Regions from separate parts of the Homo sapiens genome. Here region 1 is linked to region 2. The links are contacts of gene promoters, found by promoter capture Hi-C in blood cells and fetal thymus (Javierre and others, 2016). All regions are on one chromosome and are shown on one strand. The core of a region is centred on a gene start or on the middle of the fragment in contact, and the rest is flanking DNA. Distances in the headings are between cores, read along the strand shown. Region 1 holds the start of ZSCAN20 (zinc finger and SCAN domain containing 20). Region 2 holds the start of ZBTB8OS (zinc finger and BTB domain containing 8 opposite strand).

Region 1 (3,909 bases), core at 243-2,742, 820 kb after region 2:
CCATTCTCAACACCACATTAGATTGTTCATGCCCCAAAGTATTCACAGTGGTACAGAGCACCCGCATTTATATGAGGATTATTTTGTAATAATGATTAACATTCTTCCAACACCTAGGAAGTGCCAAGCTCTGTACTAACTGATTTACATAATAATAGCTAACAATCGCTGTGCATTATTAGGAGCCAGGCCCTGAGCTAATCGTTTTAGGTGTATTATCTCATTGAAAGTTCACAAAACTCTGTGACATGGATGCCATTACTACCCTCATTTTATGGTTGAAGAGAACGAGGTTCAGAATTCTTCCAAAGTCACACAGCTTAGCTGTAAGCTGGAAATTAAAGCTACAACTGTCCAGTTCTCTCCTGCCTATCGGGCTGGTCACCTCTAGTCATTCTCTCTTCTTATTTCTTATTGTGTCTGCTTTGATCTTTCAGGGTCTGAGGCTCTCACTTCGACCCCTCAGTAGAACTGGGCCCCCTTCTGCTCGAGTGCCCTCCCATTGGGCGGTGCTGTTATCCGGAAGCCTATGGAAAAGGCCAGGATCGCAACAGGTCCCGCCCCCATGTGTCGCGCCCGTTCCGATTTGTTCCAGTGCCAGGGTCCGTTAGAAGATGACATATCTATTGGCTGAAGACGTCTGAAAGGCAGCAAACGGAGGGGGCCGCCCCCGGCGCTCGCGCGGTTCCTTCTGGGAATTGTGGTCTCAGACGTTCCATTCCCAGGGTGGCGCCGCTCGGACTCCGCGTCCCAGCATTCCCCGCACGAGCCCGGGAGCACTTCCGCCCTGTTGTGAAGTGGGTGTCTCGGTGGGTGAGTCCGGGTGGCGGGGCGGGGGCAGCTGAGACGCAGGCTCTGGGCTGGAGACTTAGGAGGTGGTGGTGACACAGGGGGCTGGGGAAGGTGAGAGGGGAGAAAGAAGCTTATATGTGGGGGTGGAGGGTGAGGGACGGTCAAAGGATGTAGAGGCCGGAGATGGGAAGGGTCATACAGGGGTCGGGGATGAGGAGGCGATAGAGGGCCCTGGGAATGAGGAGGGCCTTAGAAGGGTCTGAAGGTGAGGGGGTTGAGGGAGGTTTTGGAGGTGGGAGAGTCATAGAAAGGTCTGGAGACCACAGAGGAAAGGATAGAGGGTCTGGGGCCCTGGCAAGAAGTGAAGAGGGCCTGAGCTTGAAGCCCGACCTTAAAAATAGTGTTTCAATCTCTACCTTCCCATCTAGAACAAGCATATCTAATTTGTTACCTCCCTAATGATTGTTACCTCTGGAACCCAGTGGATGGGACTGGCTATTGTGTTCTGCCCCAAACCTGCACTTCTTTCCTTATGTCTTATGGAAGTCAGTGGCACGATCATCCCATTTACCTACCTACCTACCTACTTACCCACTGATTCCTCTTGCATTCTTCCACGTCCAAGGATCTTCCGATCTTTAATTTCTTTAATATCTTTTCAGTCGGCCTCTTTCTTGTAGGGTTTTCGCAGAAGCCTTTTCAGTTTCCCAGCATGAACACACACATTGCACCTAGTGTGATCTGTTTCACCTACAAATCTGATTATGCCTTCTGCTTGAAAACTTTCATTGGCACCCAGCACCTGTAAAGTCCAAACACCTTGTCCTTCATAAACTCCTTTTGCAGCCTAATCTTCATGCACCTCACACTCCAGGGCTGTCAAGGTTTTCCTCGTTTCCTGGGTAGGCCATTTGGTTTTCCATCATTATATATGCTGTTCTCTCAGCTTAGAATATTCTCTCCTTGCCCTTCACCTTCTTTGCCAAGAGAACTTCTTTAACTTAAAAAAATTTCAACTCTTACTTTGCTCAATTCCCTTAAGCAAATTAAGTCACCCCCAACCCTCAGCTCCCATAACTTCTCCTATTACCACATTTGATCATAATTATCTGTGAAGTGTGTGTCTCTTCCATTAGACTGTGAACATCTCCAGGACAGGAACAGTGTCTCAATCACCTCTGTTTCCCCATTGCCCAGTCTAGAGCAGTAAACACTTGATGTAAAGCAGTAAATACTTGATGTATGTATGTGTGAATGAAGACCATGCAGGGTAAGCTTTGCTATACCAGCCTTGAAGACTTCTATTGCCAGTGGATTTCCAGGGCAGGAGCTTTAGTCTTCCTCTGCCTGGCAAGGCTATCTGCTGGAAGCTGAAGCTGATTCATTGCCAATGGGAGTTTAAGCCAGGGGTGACAAATACATGGAATGTGTGCTGCCAGTGCCCCTTCCTGTGTCCCTGGCAGTCATGGCTAATTGGTTGGTTCTCAGCACATATTCACACTGTACTCAGAGCCCTCAGCACACTACTCTAGGCAGCCACTTCCAGTTGATTGAAGTTTCTGCTTTAAATGAAACCTATTTGCTCTCCCTGGCTTAAGCCCTTATGTGTGAGGTCAGGTCAGACTGCTTTAAGCCATAGCTTGGACTGTCAGCCAAATGGGCCTGACAGCCTTTAAGAGTTCCCAGTTTTTTCTCTTTGGAGGTCACAGACCAGTCTTGGCCTTTCCTGTGGAACTGGAGAGCATCTTCTCTTCCCTTTTCACTGAGTGGGCTCCTCATGACCACGTTCATACTTACTGCCCTAGGAGTCAAGATGCCCCTCAGCTTCCCTGTGTTTGTAAAGACATCTTGATTTTGATGGCAGTCAGCACTTATCCCTCATGACCTGGGAGGCTCTGTACTCTTTCTAGGTCTTTCTGGATATTGGAAGAGAGCTTTGAGATCACTTAGCTGAATCTAAGTGGCAAAGCGACAGCCCATGCTGAATGAAGTCCACCATCATGCTTTATTTAATCTCATAGTGTGTGAAAAAATTTTGAGTTGGTTACCAACATTTAAAAATCCAGAGTGCTAGTTTCTTTTGGAAAAATCAGCAGGCTTAGGAATATTCTGGGCATATGTTCCCCTGGCACTCTATAGTTGGCTGTAGTGCCCACCCAGTTCATTTCAGTCATTGACTCATTTACATTGCTAGGTCCTTATACCCATTTAAACTTGTAGCCACTGACTCTAGTCTCCCTTCTCCCTTGCTCTACCCCATCATACTAATTGGGGAACCTAGGGCAACTGCTGAGTAAGATCAGGCTGTAAGCTGCAGCCTAGCTAGGCAGCCACAGGGGCTACATAACTTGTCCAAAGTAACACAGCTGATTAGTGGCAGGAGTGGAACTAGAACCCCAGTCTGCTCACTCCTGCCTTAATGTTCTTTCCATTCTCCCGTACTGTCATCTTAAGAGTTTGGATGACTAGCACACATAGAGGAGGCTATAAGACATGGTTAAGAAAAATGATTGGAGAAAAGGGATCTCGGCTTAGACCCTAACTCTACCACTTGCTAGTTGTGTAACCTTAAGTGAATCTTCATAAACACTCAGTTTCCCTTTAGGTAATTGAGGATATAGTGCAGTCATACCTTATCAGATAATAATATTCTAAGGGTGAAAATCACTTTAGCCAAAAATCACAGTTAGTTTGAAAATCCTTTGGCAAGGAGCCGTTTCAGAAACTAACACGCTGCCTTTCAATAAATAAACTAATCAGCACAGCTGGGCTTTCTTGTTTGAACATTAGATGAGAATTCGCTTGTATTAGGGACTGTGCGGTATGAAAGACACTTTACTCACACTTAGTGGAAAGAGAGGCACGAGGGAATCAAGACCAACCTGGTGAATAGCGAAGTCCTAGGTGCCACCACCACATGCTTATTCTCGAACAGATAGTGAACGCAACTGGCTGCACTATTTAAATCATGCTCTTTCTCTCTTTCTTTTTTTTTTCTTCTTTTTCTGAGACAGAGTCGTGCTCTGTTGCCCAGGCTGGAGTGCAGTGGCACGATCTCAGCTCACTGCAACCTCCGCCTCCTGGGTTTAAGCAATTCTCCTGCCTCAGCCTCCCGAG
Region 2 (4,163 bases), core at 1,664-4,163:
TAGATTCTCATAGGAGCTTGAACACTATTGTGAACTGCACATTGAGGGATCTAGGCTGTGTGCTCCTTATGAGAATCTAAAGCCTGATGATCTGTCATCCCCAGATGGGACCATCTAGTTACAAGAAAACAAGTTCAGGGCTCCCACTGATTCTATATTACAGTGAGTTGTATAATTATTTCATTATATATTACAACGTAATAATAATAGAAATAAAATGCACAATAAATGTAATGCGCTTGAATCATCCTGAAACCATCCTCCCCTACAACCCCCGTTGGTGGAAAAACTGACTTCCGTGAAACCAGTCCCTAGTGCCAAAAAGGTTGGGGACCGCTGGTTAATGAACTGCATTGCATAAAAACACTTTCTGCCTAGTAAGAAAAACCAACAACCCAAGACAAAAAAAAAATAACCCAAGAGAAAAAAGGGCTAAGAATATTAACATACACACCCCAGAATGGGAAATACAAATAGCTTCCAAAACAGTATAATATGTTCAACTTCACTTACAATAAGAAAAATACAGTAAGTATACTTTACAAATTAGAAAAGATAAAAAAGTATGGTAACAATTAGTAGAAGTGGGAGGAAAGAGGCACATTCACACAATACTAGTGAAAGTATAAATTGGTACAACTCCTATAGAGAGCAATTTGGCAATAACTGTCCAAGTTAAAATATCCTTTTAAAAAATGTAGGAGTCTTAGCAATGGAAACAAAAAAAACTTGGAGAACTTGATTCTACAGATTCACTTGCACATGTACAAAACAGTGGATGTACAAGTGTATTCACTGCTGCACTGTTTCTAATACCACAAGAGTAGAAATAGCCTAAACGTCCATCAACTGAAAATTGGTTAAAGCAAATGCTAGAACATCTAGGTATGTACATGTAAGAAAAAGGTAACGATGACTGCTCTACAGAGGGGGACTAGGTAGTTGAGGATGGGGGCTGCCAGAGTTACTTTTCACTGCCTATGTTACACTTTCTGAATTTCAAATCAATATATATGACCTATTAAAAATAATTTTTTTTTGAGATGGAGTCTGGCTCTGTCGCCCAGGCTGGAGTGCAGTGGTGCAATCTCGGCTCACTGCAACCTCCGCCTCCCAGGTTCAAGCGATTCTCCTGCCTCAGCCGCCCAAGCAGCTGGGATTACAGGCACCCACCACCATGCCTAGCTAATTTTTGTATTTTTAGTAGAGATGGGGTTTCACCATGTTGGCCAGGCCAGGCTGATCTCAAGCTCCTGACCTCAGGTGATCCACCCGCCTCAACCTCCCAAAGTGCTGGGATTACAGGCGTGAGCCACAGCACCAGGCCTTTTTTTTTTTTTTTTTTTTTTTGAGACAGTCTCACTCTGTTGCCCAGGCTGGAGTGCAGTGGTGTGATCTCGGCTCACTGCAGCCTCCACCCTCCTGGGTTCAAGCAATTCTCCTGCCTCAGCCTCCCGAGTAGCTGGGATTACAGGCGCCCACCATCATGCGCAGCTAATTTTTGTATTTTTAGTAGAGACGGGGTTTCACCATGTTGGCCAGGCTGGTCTGGAACTCCTGACCTCAGGTGATCCACCCACGTCAGTCTCGCAAAGTGCTGGGATTATAAGTGTGAGCCACCGCAAACGGCCTATAATATTTTAAAATTGTTTTTAAGTGAGAGAAGGGGATATGCTAGGAGGTATGCCAGCTCCAGAAAGCACATTGCCTAGAATACTATGGTAAATAAGTAGATTTTACAGAGAGGACAATGAGAAATTAATGAAAGATTTTAAGCAGATAAATAAAAGTCAGATTTGTGCTCCCCAAACCACAGCTACCTTTAGGGATGACAGCTTAACGTTTAATATAGAATTTAAGAGACAAAGATAGGTTATGTGATTTGCCTAAAGTCACTAAGCGAATAAATGGCAAAACCAGCTGGGCACTGCAGCGCGGGCTATGATCGCTCCATTGCACTCCAGCCTGGACGACAGAGCGAGACCCCATCTCTAAAAACACACACACACACACACACACACACACACACACATTTTTTTTTTTTTTTGAGACAGAGTTTCGCTCGTTGCCCAGGCTGGAGTGCAATGGGGCGATCTCGGCTCACCGCAACCTCCGCCTCCCGGGTTCAAGCGATTCTCCTGCCTCAGTCTCCCGAGTAGCTGGGATTACAGACATGCTCCACCACGCCCAGCTAATTTTGTATTTTTAGTAGAGACGGGGTTTTTCCATGTTGGTCAGGCTGATCTCGAACTTCCGACCTCAGGTGATCCGCCCGCCTCGGCCTCCCAAAGTGCTGGGATCACAGGCCTCAGCCACCGAGCCCGGCCTAAAATAATCATTTTTAAAAATCACAATCATAAATGGCAAAACCAGGTTTTTTGCTAATATGATCGAGGTGAAACATCAAGTTAGAAATCCCCTAATTAGCTTTCCGAGTCCTCTAACCTCGCACACTCTAATCTCACCGTTGGGAAATACATGGGGGTAACAACCCTGCAAACGCCTGAAAATATGGTTATCTTTAGAATTTACGAAGATAAATGTGATTAGGCACATGTGGAAGAAGTTCAAGAGACTGTAAATGAGGGAGGCCAGGTTTCGCGACTATTAAACCAGGTGGCTTTTTCCTTCAGCATCCCCAGGAGAAGTACGAACGCGACTACAACAGCCGGCACAAATGGGATCATGCCTGAAGTACCCATGGGGCACAGTAGAAAGAGCAGCAGGAAGCCGCGGGTAAGGAGAGGGGATGCCTGTGTGCTTACATGTAAAGAGAGAAGTAAGCCACCTACTCACACTCGTACTTCCTATTGACTGGCGGATACTTGGCCTTGATCGCCTTCTGTTCTTCAGTCAAATTGTAATCTCTAACATCTTCCTCTTCCTGCGCCATGACTGCAGGATTAGACACTCTACTTCCGCCCTTCATCCACCGGACTTCGGCCCGGAGTTACTACTTCCGCTCTAGACTCCGCCCCTTGGCGCACACCCTTAAAGGACCACACTCCTTTCTCGGAGTTGGCTGTTGACCTACTTTAGTCCCTACCCTGCCGCTTGGATCGCATATTTAAAAAGCCAAAACCCCATCTTCTGCGATTCCTTCATTACTAGTTCTTTCCAAAGACTAAGGAAAAACGTTGAAGGGCACCTTGAATGAAACCCGTCTGGGTCTGACTGGCGAGGTTCTTTCCCCCGCTTCACCCCCAAAATTGATAACTAGACCCGAAGGCATTCTAGATTTTTCATCTCAGTACTCTGAAAGGGTCGTAAGCTTAATAGCCTTCAAGAAAATGGCTGCCCTCTTGCCGCGGGAGTGTGCGGACCAAACCTCTCTCACGTGACCCTGACCGGGCGCAGTCCCGTCAACGCCGGCGCGCGCAATCGCTGGAAGTCGGCTCGGGGAGGCGTGGGGGGAGGGGCGGAGCGCGCGCCTCGGTCCCCGCGGAAAGCTACTCCGCGCGTCTGGATTGGTCGCGAACGCGGCTTCCCCGCCCATCCCGCCATTAGGAGCGCTCCCATTGGCTGATGTTGGCGCGAAGGTGCGCGAGTCAGCCCTCGCGCTGGGGGCGCAGGAAACAATAGAGGCCGCGCGCACAGAGCGAGCTCTTGCAGCCTCCCCGCCCCTCCCGCAACGCTCGACCCCAGGATTCCCCCGGCTCGCCTGCCCGCCATGGCCGACAAGGAAGGTGAGGGTGCCGGGGCCGACCCAGGAGGGCAGTGGGTGCCTGGGCTGAGCCGCGGCCTCGACATGGCCTAACAGTGAGGGCAGGCCCGAGTTTGCCGAGTGCAGTCCCCGGTACTGAAGGCGTGAAGAGGGAACTCCCCGCGGGGCGTGCTAACGGCTCGCCAGTTCCCTGGGACCGATTTCGGTCGCAGCTGGCGAAGCCAGCGGTGGGGCCCCCGGCCAGTGTTTGTTTCTCTTCCTGCCTCCGATATCGGTTTCTCGGCCTCTGTCCCGAGCGTGGGGACACCGCTTCCTACCCACAAGGCTCGGAGCTCGGGCCTCCTCGTCGGGCTTGTGAGTTTCGGCGCGCACGAGCGTGCTCCGAAGGCCTGGCTGGCCCCTTGGCCTGGAACGGGTAACGGAGTGTTTGGCGGGGATGGCCCGAGGAGTTTCGGCGCCGCGAAAGTGGAGAGTGTGGATGCCTCTGCCGTGGGGATTT

What was found. Contacts are between HindIII fragments. The CHiCAGO score rates a contact against its expected background, and 5 or more counts as called.
Region 1: a fragment that was not itself captured here is called in contact with the fragment with the promoter of ZBTB8OS in region 2 in 3 of 17 cell types (fetal thymus, naive CD4 T cells and non-activated CD4 T cells); the score reaches 7.9 in fetal thymus.

Annotation. Positions count from the first base shown.
Region 1 is chr1:33,471,879-33,475,787 of GRCh38, forward strand. ZSCAN20 (zinc finger and SCAN domain containing 20) reads left to right here and starts at 767. Exons shown (of 8, transcript NM_001377376.1): 1 at 767-813. The HindIII fragment of the contact is 1,145 bases long and covers 921-2,065 here.
Region 2 is chr1:32,647,637-32,651,799 of GRCh38, forward strand. It overlaps ZBTB8OS (zinc finger and BTB domain containing 8 opposite strand), which reads right to left and starts at 2,914. Exons shown (of 7, transcript NM_178547.5): 1 at 2,797-2,914. The coding sequence starts at 2,893. RBBP4 (RB binding protein 4, chromatin remodeling factor) reads left to right here and starts at 3,572. Exons shown (of 12, transcript NM_005610.3): 1 at 3,572-3,686. The coding sequence starts at 3,671. RefSeq lists enhancers at 1,511-1,650, 2,784-3,371, 3,372-3,960, 4,121-4,163 and a silencer at 3,251-3,820. The HindIII fragment of the contact is 3,350 bases long and covers 1-3,269 here.